Regions from separate parts of the Homo sapiens genome. Here region 2 is linked to region 1. The links are contacts of gene promoters, found by promoter capture Hi-C in blood cells and fetal thymus (Javierre and others, 2016). All regions are on one chromosome and are shown on one strand. Each heading gives the region's core, a stretch centred on a gene start or on the middle of the fragment in contact. The rest is flanking DNA. Distances are from core to core; before and after follow the strand shown.

Region 1 (5,966 bases), core at 776-3,275:
ATTTTAAAATTAATTCCTAAATAGCTAATCTGATCCGATTATCTCATCTACAGGGAAGATAAACTTAAATCCCAGGGTTATAAACAAACAGCTACTCTCCAATGATACTTTCAAAGATATTGAGAGAGATAAATACGCTTACTTCATAACTCAAAGTAAAATTTAATTTTTAACCATAAAATAAGTAGTCCTTCCTAAAACTATATTAAGAGGCTTACATATTGTTACTTCTTCAACACAAACTGTCTAAGCTTGTATTAGCTATGTACCCTATGTTGTAATTACAGTCCTGGAAATTAGCAACATACAGTGAATGAAACTCACATGTTCCATAAAAATGAAATGATTTGGCTTGAAATATTACTGACTACATAAAGGCAACTATAGTCATTCCATAAATCCAGCCTACTACCCAGGTAAGCCTTATAACAGTATCTACTAGTATAAAACTGCAAAACCAAGTGTTCATTTAAGCTTTTATAACAGGAAAGCGTTTAATTCTGTCATATATGTCTTGCTGTCTTCCTACTCATGTTTCTAAACTTTTCTAAAATGTAAAATAAATATATAGTATATGCACACAGCAATATCCAGCTTTAAATTTAACTGCAAAGACATTTATGCAGAAAATAACAGTGGAACACCTGATTTGGGGGTAAAAGGTGCTGCAGGGGAAAGAGAATGGGGTATGGCATTATATGAAAACACTCTATTTCAGCGTCAGCCCACATACAGAATTCCAAAGAGCCAAGGAGCATCCAAATTGCCGTAGTAAAGGCAAATATTTAGATTCACAAAGTCCAGACTGAATTATCACATATCTAGAAACATACTTTTTAAAGAAATCAGGGATTAAAAACTAAGAAGAGCGTAAAATCCTTTAGAACCGCGAGATACTTTGAGGGTAAACCCTAGCACTTCCTTTCGTACTTTTAAATAAAAATATTTTAGTAGACTCTCAAGAATACACAATACAAAACGATGAATCTTGAAAACATGCAAATGGGTCTAACAGCCACCGAGCACAGGATGATGTCTTTCTAAAGCAGCCTTAATTTCCTTAAGGGAAGATGGATTGGACATTTCTGGTTGGTCGTGGGGGAAAAAAGCCACAAGAAGCCACGCTTTATCTTCATTAGAAATGGTAAAGGGCAAAAAGATCAAAACATTATGAGAGAGATCGGAGAAAAGAGGGGGAGAAGTGGGGTGGGCGGGAAGGGGGAGAGGACAGAGGGAATCCAGTTTCAAACCAGGCCAGTGGGGGCTGCAGAGAAGAGACCAGAGAAAAATGGGCTTCGGTTCCAAACTGTGACAAGCGCCAGGCATCACAAAAGACCAATACAACACACACCCCTCACCAGGACACACACAAATATACCCCACAAGGTCTTCTCCGGGCGGGCCACCGGGGTGCGGCGGCGAAGGAGCCAAACCCGGCACTCGCCAGGAGACACACCATGTGCAGCAATTATGCAATTAGGGAAAATAGCAAAAGATCAAGCCGGGCACTTTCCACCGTGACATTTATCCTGTACTTTTGAAAAGACTTAGTTCCAGGATGCGGCTAGGAGAAGGAAAGCGCTGGGAGGGTTGAGAAGGATGGGGAACTGAGAACGGAAGGGGGTAGAAGGAGGACAGGGAGAGAAGAGGCAGAAGGGGGGGATGGGAAGAAGGGGGAGGGGTAGAAAGGGCGAGAAACGGGGGCAGGAGGCTCGCGGGAGGGGGCGTAGGGAACCGGGCACGGGGAGCGAGGAAGGAGGGAACTAGGGCACGAGCGGTGTAAGCAGAGACCTGCGACGCGGAGGGGAGGTCGGGGGAGTGAGGAGGACGTCAGCGAGAGGGAGGACGCCCGAGGAGGGGAGGCACCGGCGCGGCCCGAGCGAATACCTGAGGGGGGGGTGTCCGTGCAGGTCGCAGGCTCGAGCCGAAGCCCTGGGAGAGAGCTGCCCAGGCGCGAGGGGGAGGGAGACTGGGGAGGCCCCAGGGACGGGATGTCCCCTGCGGACCGTCTAGTCACCGAAAGCCGGACCCACGCACCACGCACCCGACCACGCCTGTCCCCGCCGCGCTCGCGCCCGCCCGGACTCACCCTCAGCGCCGCCGCTGCCGCCGCCCCCGGCCGTTCCAGCTCCGGCTCCTGAGGCTGCTGCCCGCGGCTGTCGCTGTGGCTGCCCCTGAGTCCTGGAAAGTGAAGCCACCACCTCCGGGAGCCGCCGCCGCCCGGCCGTCCGCGCGCGCACCCGCGAGTGCGCGTGCCTGCGCGCCCGCCCGGGAGAGACCGCGAGAGCGCGAGCCCCACGTCGGCCATGCGGCGCCGCGCGCCTCCCTCCTCCCCCCGCCCCTCCTCCTCCGGCGCGCGGCCGCGAGGGGGCGGGGGCGGGAGCGCGCCCGGGCGGGCTGCCCCGCCGGTCGGGAGAGGGGGTGGGGAGGCGGCGAGGAAAAGTAAAGTGACAGCTGGGTCCCGCGCGCAGACTGGGCTCTGACGGGGGTGAGCGAGGGGCGTCCCACGGGGAAGGAACGACAAGGACGGGGAGAAGTGGGGGAAACCGAGGCTGACGGGGTGGCTTGAGGGGAGGGGACGCGAGGACCTTGCCGGGCACGCGCATTAAAGGGAAACGCCGGCTGGGGGTTAGGGGTTACCCCAAGACGGTGCAGGCAGTGGGACGAGGAGGCCTTTTACCCCCATCCACCGCAGCCCTTGACTTCACGCTCGCCTCGAAGCTTTCGCAAAGTAGATACGGGGACTGACCCTGTTGACACACTAACCCAAACTCGCAGACGCGTGGGGCTCGCATGTACCCAAGACAGGAAAACTTCACGTTGGCCTGGAAACTTCTTCCAGGCTAAGCCTGAGTCTTCACCAGACACTGCAGCACGAAGGCCCTTCTGCCTTTTGGCTCGCCCTGGCCCAGAATGCGCACCAGCCGGTAGAGAGGAGCTTCGGGCCGTTTAGCCCTGGGGTATTGAAGAGAGGGGTGGGGGTACAGGGTGCACCACTGTCAGAGTGAGTGGGAAGCTGCCTTCATGCCCAGTTGAAGGATATGGGAACAGTAGCAGTGCTGTAGGTGGCATGAGGGAACATTAGGTTCCGTTGTACTCCTCATCCCAAATAACCGTTTAAAAAAAAAAAAAAAACGTACCTGCTTTGCGAACTTAGCTTCCACGAAATTTCTCCCACTCCAACCTCCAGCCTCACTTACCAACGGAATGCTGGGTCGTTGGCAACGGGGTGTCCAGGGATGCAGCAAAATTAACTTCTATCTTTGTGGAGGAAAGGATTGGAAGATCTTTCACTGCTTAATTGCTGAAATTATGGTTGCTACAGTACTTCATTTGACTGTAGATGTTTTAACTGCTATTTACTAAGTTCAAAATGGGTTTAATACAAATCAGTTACCCTTTTCATTTATTCAAGGAATATTTATTGATACCAGGCACTGTCTAGGTGGTAGATATATGACATTGAATAAAAGAAAAAAATCCTTGTCCTCAGAACTTCCCTATGTCTGAACCTTCTCTGTTGTACACTCAGCATCACATTCGTCAGCAAATTCTGTTGACTCTGTTTTCACAAATATATGGTGAAAATGTCCACTCCGTCTCACTCCCCTCCCCACTGCTAATGTCCTGGTCTAAGGCATCATCTCTCAATAATTATCTCCTACCTGATCTTTCTACCTCCCACTCTCCGCCTCCTCCCTCCCCAACACCTACACACAGCCGACTGTCCTTTAAAACAAAGATTAGATTATGTCTCTCTTCTTCTCAAAAATTCCAGTGGCTTCCCATCATAGAGCAACAGCCAAAGTGCAAAATATGGATACATGGCCTGCATGATGTGCCCACCATTCCCAGCCAGGATTCCCCTGACCTCAAGCTGTACGATTTCACTCCATCCTCGTCTCCTTCCAGCCACACCGGCCTTGCAGTTATGGACACACCAAGCATTCCTCAGCCTCAAGACCTGTGTACTTACTATTTCCTATCTCTAGAACATTCTTTCCTCCCACTCCTCCCCCAGAACTTCCTATCCACATCCTCTGCTTTTTCTCCATGATCACCACCTGACATAATACATTTTTTTACTTATTTATTAGTTTCCCCCTTCTGCTTTCTTTTTCCTCCCTCTCCCAGCCCTCCCACGTAAAAGCACCTTGAGAAAAAGGATTTCGTCGTCTGGGGTTCAGTGCTGTATATATTCAATAGATAATGACCGAGTGAAAGAAATTGGTCTCTTTCAGTTGATGACACAATAGGTATTGTTTCTAATTTCTTCAATAATTAGTACTTACCGTGTTCTTAATTTGTGCTAGGCAGCATGCTAAGCACTTTAGTTATACTAGGTCACAACCACCACACAGGTTGGTTTTATCCAATCAGCCCCACTGTACAGATGAGAATACTGAGGTACGGAGGGATTAAGTCACTCACCTACAGTCACATAGCTAGTGAGGAGCAGAGCTGGGACTCGAAATCAGCAGTTTGGCTCTGGAGTCTGTGAACTTAAGGACACTTTACCATGAGTCTGGTGTTACAGACATAAATATTTATTTGATTTTCTCTATTTCTCTCTTCTGCGGTGCAAACTTGGTCTCCAAGACAAATAGCTCATCTTCCTTATATTTTCTGCTCTGGTCCATCAGTCTGTCGTCATGAACTCACTCCTTTCTTACATTTCTTATTTCTGATCATTAATTTAGAGCCTACGTTTTTTCCCCCTGCAACTGGCAAATTGGAATGTTTTTTGAAGGGTCCTTCTTAAAACGTTGTTACTGCCAACTTCGTGAGTAAGTAGAGCCACAGTTAGTTTTCCAGTTTGACTGGATGGGTGATAGAAAAGACCTCTCTCAGGGGAACTGGGCTGAATTTGAGCAGAAGCATTATACTGGTAGAGCCCTGCTACTTATTTAGGCAACTTCTGTTCTTGTTAGGCACCCAATTATCAGGGGTTATTACATATTTATATTATACCCTTTGAAAGAAACATCATATTAGCTCAGGTTTTCCAAAGAATGGGATAGAAAACAATGATCTGTTGCATACTGTCTGGCTTGAAGGAGGCTGTAGTCACCCCGAATGTTTTGGATACTTAAGGGCAACAGTGGTGTAGGAAAATTGAAACTCCAATAGAACTGCAACCCCATTACCTACCTAGTTCAGTACCAACGCAAAGGTACGACCAGGTGCTTTAAAAAAATGTTTGTTTCATAAATAAATAAATGAAATTCTAGCAGGGAATAGAAGTGTACTGAGGACAAATTCCCCTGACTTCCCCATTTGTTCAGGAACTGCTACCTGGACCACTATGTATGATCGTGTATTTTGTACACTGCAAAGTATCAGGGGGTGCCATTCATGTAAATTAAGATGCAAACATAGAAGTGTGGCTGCTCCTCTCACCCCTAGACGTTGCCTGAGTATGGTAATCAGTCTCTAAGATGTCCCACTGATCCCTGCCTCTTGGTATTCACACCCTTGTGTAATCCCCTCCTACGTCATGCTAGGGTTGGTGTAATGCTGTGAGAAAGGAGGGTATGTCACTTCCAAGATTAGTTTAGGGCTTCCATCTTGGTTGCGCACACACTGATGCTCTCTCTCTCTCTTTGCTGTCACTGACTCTGGGGAAAGCTAGCTGCCATATTGTGAGCAGCCCTGTGGAGAGGCCCATGTGACTAAAAAATAAGACCCGCTAACATCCACATGTGTAAGCTTTAAAGCAGATCCTTCAGCCTTAGCTAAGCCTTCAGATAATGAAGCCCTGATCAACATCTTAACTGCAAACTCTTGAAAGTCCTTGAGCCAGAAACACCCAGCTAAGCCACTCTGGAATCTGGAGATAATGTTTGTTATTTTCAGCCACTAAGTTTTAAGGGTAATTTGTTATGCATCAATAGATGATTACTACACCATGCTCTCTGCTCACTAATGATGAAGTTCCCCCTCAAGTTCTCCATGTATCAAGGAGG
Region 2 (6,056 bases), core at 1,598-4,097, 520 kb before region 1:
GCTGCCTTTCAAATAACACAAGGAGCTACTCTTTAAAAGCTTAAATTCCAAAGGGATTATTCCTGTCAGGGGAAAGGAATAAAAAGAATCCACTTCTGTAAACATGAAACAAAGATCAGAATAAGGATTTAAGAGTAATGCTCAGCTAAGCCACAGAAAAAGGCACAGAAGCCCACGCGCTGGGCTGGGTTCTTGTTTCTGCTCCCTTAGAAGAGAGAAATGGTTAAGTGAGTGGGTTGCCTGGAGGATTCAGCTGGTTGGAGGGGAGAGATTTTGAGATGGCACAATCTCAAGCTCCCTGGTTGGCCTTGTTGGGAGAAGCGGACAGCTGTGAAAGGGATCTGTGCATTTCTCCTCATGCCAGCATGCCCATGTTGTCCCCTGGGTGCAAAAGGATGGGGACAAAGTCACAGCACTGGAGTGAGGCCAGGGTTATCAGTGTCAGTTGTGATGTTGCCTCTCCCTTTGCATGGAGTAAGACTGACTGCTTCTAATCTGTGTTTTTTTTTTGTTTGTTTGTTTTTTGTTTTGAAACAAGGTCTTACTCTGTCTCCCAGGCTGGAGTGCAGTGGTGCAATCTTGGCTCACTGCAACCTCCGCCTCCCACACTCAGGTGATCCTCTCATCTTAGCCTCCCAAGTAGCTGGAATTACAGGCACGCACCACCATGCCCAGCTAATTTTTGTATTTTTAATAGAAACACGGTTTTTCCATTTTTGCCAGGGTGGTCTCAAACTCCTGTGCTCAAGCTATCCTCCTGCCTCCTCCTCCCAAAGTGCTGGGATTACAGGCATGAGCCACCATGCCCGGCCTGGTTCTAATCCTTATTTATCCTGCTACCTAGTAGCTTGTATGACCCCAGGAGAGTCACTGACCACACTGACCCTGGGCTTTATTTTTTAATCTGTACAATGGGGATAATACCTAGTATATCAGTAATGGCCTAGTATGCAAGTACAGAAACCAAGTCTGCCTACATTAAACAAAAAGGGAGGCTGGGCGCAGTGGCTCACGCCTGTAATTCCAGCACTTTGGGAGGCCGAGGCGGGTGGATCGCAAAGTTAGGAGTTCAAGACCAACCTGGCCAACATGGCGCAACCCTGTCTGTACTAAAAATACAAAAATTAGCCGGGTGTGGTGGTGCATGCCTGTAATCCCAGCTACCCAGGAGGCTAAGGCAGGAGAATTGCTTGAACCTGGGAGACAGAGGTTGCAGTAAGCTGAGATCACGCCACTGCACTCCAGCCTTGGCAACAGAGAGAGATTCTGTCTCAAAAAAAAAAAAAAAAAAAAAGAAATTATTGGAACTGAGGGAAGCCTGGAGGAGTAGAAAACTGGCAGGAAGCTAGGCTGCTCAGAAGGCCAGGCAGGAGTCACGGCAGAGGTCACGTGGCAGAAAGAATCTTCTTTGTGCCCTGCAGTTCCCCCTGCATTGGGTCCTTATGTCACTCACTTAGCTTCCAGAGTTCCTGAAGACAGCATCAGACTGGCCAGGCCAAGGTCACTCCCATCAAGAAGGAGGATCTAATTTCTTGCATTTTACTTTGCACCAAAACCACACAGGAAGACAGATCCAGCTGCTAATAAGACTGAGATCTGATACTGAACAGAAGAAGGCAAAACCTCCACAAAGGGCCATCACAACACCTTTCCTCTGGTGGTTATGAGACATTGGGAAGTGCTTAACACAGTGTCTGGCAATAGTGAAGTTTCAATACATGCAAGGCACTATTTGTGGGTTAACAAGTTGTGGTGCGGTGTTTCATACAATGAAATTTTACTCAGCAATCAAAACAAAAATCAACTACTCATATAGAAACATGAATGATTTTCAAAAACATTATGTTGAATGAAAGAAACCGGAACCAAAGGAGTTTGGTGAGGCTGGGTGTGGTGGTGCATACCTGTAGTCTCAGGTACTCAGGAGGGCGGATCCCCTGAGCTAGGAGTTCAAGTCCAGTTTGGACAACATAGTGACACCCCCATCTTTTAAAAGAAAGAAAAAAAGAGTTTGTTGATTGCAAACTGCAATTTTACTTATATGAAATTCTAGGGAAGTTCTAGAAGTTCTGGAAAAAACCTGAGCAAGCCATGGCGACAGAATTGAGAACAGTGGGTACCTCTGGCTGCCTCAGGAGCAGACACACAAGTTCAGGAGAGATGCCTAAAGAGGGACATCAAGGTGCTTTCTGGGGTGATGGAGTATTCCCTATCTCTTTTTGGCAAGTGATCTATTACATACTCCTTAGCAGATTCTGGCTATCATGGCCACCATTCTGCTTCCATATCTTCCTTCCTTCTTTCCTTCCTTCCTTCTTTCCTCCCTCCCTTCCTCCTTCTTTTCTTTCTTTTTTCTTTCTTTCTTTCTTTCTTTCTTTCTTTCTTTCTTTCTTCCTTCCTTCCTTCCTTCCTTCCTTCCTTCCTTCCTTCCTTCCTTCCTTTCTTTCTTTCTGTCTTCCTTTCTCTTCTTTTCTTTTGTTTCTTTGACAGAGTCTTGCTCTGTCACCCAGGCTGGAGTGCAGTGCTGCAATCTCAGCTCACTGCAAGCTCTGCCTCCCGGGTTCAAGCAATTCTCCTGCCTCAGCCTTCTGAGTAGCTGGGATTACGGGCATGCACCACCATGCCCAACTAATTTTTGTATTTTTAGTAGAGATGGGGTTTCACCATGTTGGTCAGGCTGGTTGTGAACTCCTGACCTCGTGATTCACCCACCTCAGCCCCCCAGAGTGCTGGGATTACAGGCGTGAGCCACCGTGCCTGGCCGGGTCTTTCCTTTCCTTCTCTTTCCTTTCCCTTTCCCTTTCCCTTCCCTTCCTTTCCTTCCTTCCTCTCTCTCTTTCTCTCCCTCCCTCTCTCCCTCCCCTCCCTCCCTCCTCTCTCTCTCTTTATTTCTTTTTAAAACTTTTTTTCGAGAAGGAGTCTTGCTCTGTTGCCCAGGTTGGAGTGCAGTGGCGTGATCTCGGCTCACTGAAACCTCCGCCTCCCAGGTTCAAGCAATTCTCCTGCCTCAACCTCCCAAGTATCTGGGATAACAGGTGTGCACCACCACACCTGGCTAATTTTTGTATTTTTAGTAGAAATGGGGTTTCGCCATGTTGACCAGGCTGGTTTTGAACTCGTAACCTCGTGATTTGCCCACCTCGGCCTCCCAAAATGCTGGGATAACAGGTGTGAGCCACCATACCTGGCCTTTTTCTTTCTTTTTTTAGAGACAGGGTCCTGCTCTGTTGCCCAAGCTGGAGTGCAGTGTCACAATCAAGTTCATTGTAACCTCAAGCTCTTGGGCTCAAGTGATCCTCCCACCTCAACCTTCAGAGCAGCTAAAACTAAAGATGAACACCACCAGCAGGCTAATTTTTAAATGTTTTTGTAGAGACAGGGTCTCACTATGTTGCCCAGGCTTGTCTTCAAGGCCTGGCCTCAAGCAATCTTCCTGCCTCTGCCCTTCAAAGTGTTGGGTAACAGGCATGAGCCCCCAGCCTGGTCCTTGCTTACCTGTCTTGATTAAGGAGATGATTACTCAAGCATATATATCAAAAGCCATCAAAATATACATTCAAAAGCTATGCATTTTAGTATATGTAAATTATAACTCAATTAAACTTTTTTTTAAAATGTGATTTTTTCTTATCATCAACTGATGCACAGTGTCTTCCCACCAATATCATTATAATGAAAACATGTCTGTATAACAAATTGACTTCAGGCTCCACCTGACACCCACAGGTCTCGAACGTCATTTGAAACCACAAGTGAAAAGTTAGAAAAGTTTGAGGAGTTTGTTTCAATGGGAGCTGTGGTCTGAATGTCCCCCCCTGAAAAATGCGTATGTTGAAACCTATCCCCCAGTGCAGTAATATTAGAAAGTGGGGCCTTTAAGAGATGATTAGATCCCACAGGCAGAGTCCTTATGATGGGAGTAGTGCCCTCAACAGAGTGAGACCCCCTTCTTCCCCATGAGGACGCAGCAAGAAGGCGCCATCTATGAACAAGACACCCGAATCTGCCAGTGCCTTGATCTTGGACTCCCAGCCTCCAGAACTGTAAGCAATAAATATTGTTTATAAGCCACTCAGTTTATAGTATTTTTGTTATAGCCGCCCAAATGGATGAGGTTGATCCTTTCCCCCGAGAAACTGAGAACAGGCATATAGAACATATATATATATATATATATATATAAAATATATATAGCAAGTTGACATTGTGACACCCAAGTGTATGATTAGAGGACTCATCTTTTTGAACAAGAAATAGACGAGGCTGGGTATTGCTGAACTCCTATGGTTATCACAGTAGGAACACATAGTGGTCTGCTATAAACTGGAAGAAAGTAGTTTGAGAAACATGGTTCTAAGCTACCCTCTTAGCTTGAAAGCCACTCAGGAAAGAGCTTCCCATCACCCTGGCTCCACTGTTATGTCTACATCAGTGCAGCCCATATGAAGTGTGCTCAGTGGATCCTTGTGCATTTTTATTGATTTTGGGCCTGAGGCTTCTGGACAAATAAACACAGTTGTGAGAACTAGGCTATTCCAGTCCTTAGGATTGCCCTCTACCCAGAAAAAGCCTAAACAGAGCAGAAAAGCCTAGTTGGAGCAAGCATTCTCTTAAGGGCCTAGAAAAACTTGAGCCCCAGACATTGTTCCAAGGCTAGTCCTGCCTTCATGTCTTGCCAGATGCAGAGATGGTTAGTGGCTACTTCCAGTATCACTTCTCTACTTCTCCTTACTTCCTCTTTACTTGCTAGCCACATTGTGACCAAAAATAAAATATTAATCTCCCAGCCTCCCTTGCTGCTAGATATGACCATGTGACTTGTGGCCCAGAAAGCTGAATTCAGTGGGCCTTTCAGGAAGGCAGTCTAAAGAGAGCTAACTTAGCATGGAAGGCCTCTCTTTTTCTTTACTTTCCTTCTTTTTCTGGCTTATAACTCCAGAAGCCCATTTTGGACCATGAAGCAATCTGAAGGATGGAAGCCATATGCTAGAATGCAGCAGCAGAAAGACTGATGAAACCTAGGTCCCACCAACCCTGGATGCCTGCCTCCAAACTTACTTTCTTTTTCTTTTTTTTGAGACAGAGTCTCGCTCTTGTTGCCTAGGCTGGAGTGCAGTGGTGCGATCTTGGCTTACCACAACCTCCACCTCCCGGGTTCAAGCGATTCTCCTGCCTCAACCTCCCGAGTAGCTGGGATTACAGGCACATGCCACCACACTCAGCTAATTTTTGTATTTTTAGTAGAGAAAGGGTTTCCCCATGTTGGTCAGGTTGGTCTCGAACTCCCGACCTCAGGTGATCCGCCCACCTTGGCCTCCCAAAGTGCTGGGATTACAGGCTTGAGCCACCGCTCCCGGCATGCCTGCCTCGAAACTTTCTTTAGAGAAGGAAGAAAGAGGCTACTATTATTTTTGGTAATTCTTAGGTTTTCCTGTTTCATGCAGCCAGTTGATTCATAAGCCAAAGTTTGCCTTTTCTCCTTTGTTCACTGACAATAATCCATGAAGCAGCGAGGCCCTGTCCATCTGTCATCCTGGACATTGCTAAGGAAAGCAAACTGGTAGGACAGCAATCTGCTTACACAGTCTCTCAGGCAAATTTGCACTTACAAGAGGACCACCAGAAAAAGCACTGTTTCACCCAAAAGAAGCTTTGTGGTATTACACGGAAATAAAATTTGGGATCTTTCAATTTTTCTGTGTAGATCTAAATACATGTAGACTCTGAGAAATGTATGAAGTGCATCCTCCAGCCATTGGTAGCCACGAGTAGGGATTTTGTCACAGTTATGAGAGGAAAAATGAAAGTTAACCAGTTACTTTTAAGATTCAGACAAACGTGTTTGGAAGGCTGTAAATTAATGACTTGTTGGATGGAGACATTATGCAAGTTAATTTTCCAGTCTTCAGAAAACATTTTCAAAGGGAAATTATATTCTCCAACATATATTTGGAGAATCATTTGATATTTGTATCAAACATTTTTTTTTTTTTTTTTTTTTTTTTTTTTTTTTTTTTGAGACGGAGTCTCTCTCTGTCACCCAGGCTGGAGTGCAG

What was found. Contacts are between HindIII fragments. The CHiCAGO score rates a contact against its expected background, and 5 or more counts as called.
Region 2: a fragment that was not itself captured here is called in contact with the fragment with the promoter of UBE2E2 in region 1 in 4 of 17 cell types (endothelial precursors, M2 macrophages, fetal thymus and 1 more); the score reaches 6.4 in endothelial precursors.

Annotation. Positions count from the first base shown.
Region 1 is chr3:23,199,386-23,205,351 of GRCh38, reverse strand. It overlaps UBE2E2 (ubiquitin conjugating enzyme E2 E2), which reads right to left and starts at 2,025. Exons shown (of 6, transcript NM_152653.4): 1 at 1,888-2,025. It overlaps UBE2E2-DT (UBE2E2 divergent transcript), which reads left to right and starts at 2,359. Exons shown (of 2, transcript NR_136176.1): 1 at 2,359-2,488. RefSeq lists a silencer at 1,865-2,554 and enhancers at 2,905-2,964, 2,377-3,352. The HindIII fragment of the contact is 2,247 bases long and covers 477-2,723 here.
Region 2 is chr3:23,722,825-23,728,880 of GRCh38, reverse strand. No RefSeq gene overlaps it. Among named protein-coding and RNA genes, the nearest start is that of UBE2E1, 80 kb to the left of the region's middle. The HindIII fragment of the contact is 5,611 bases long and covers 42-5,652 here.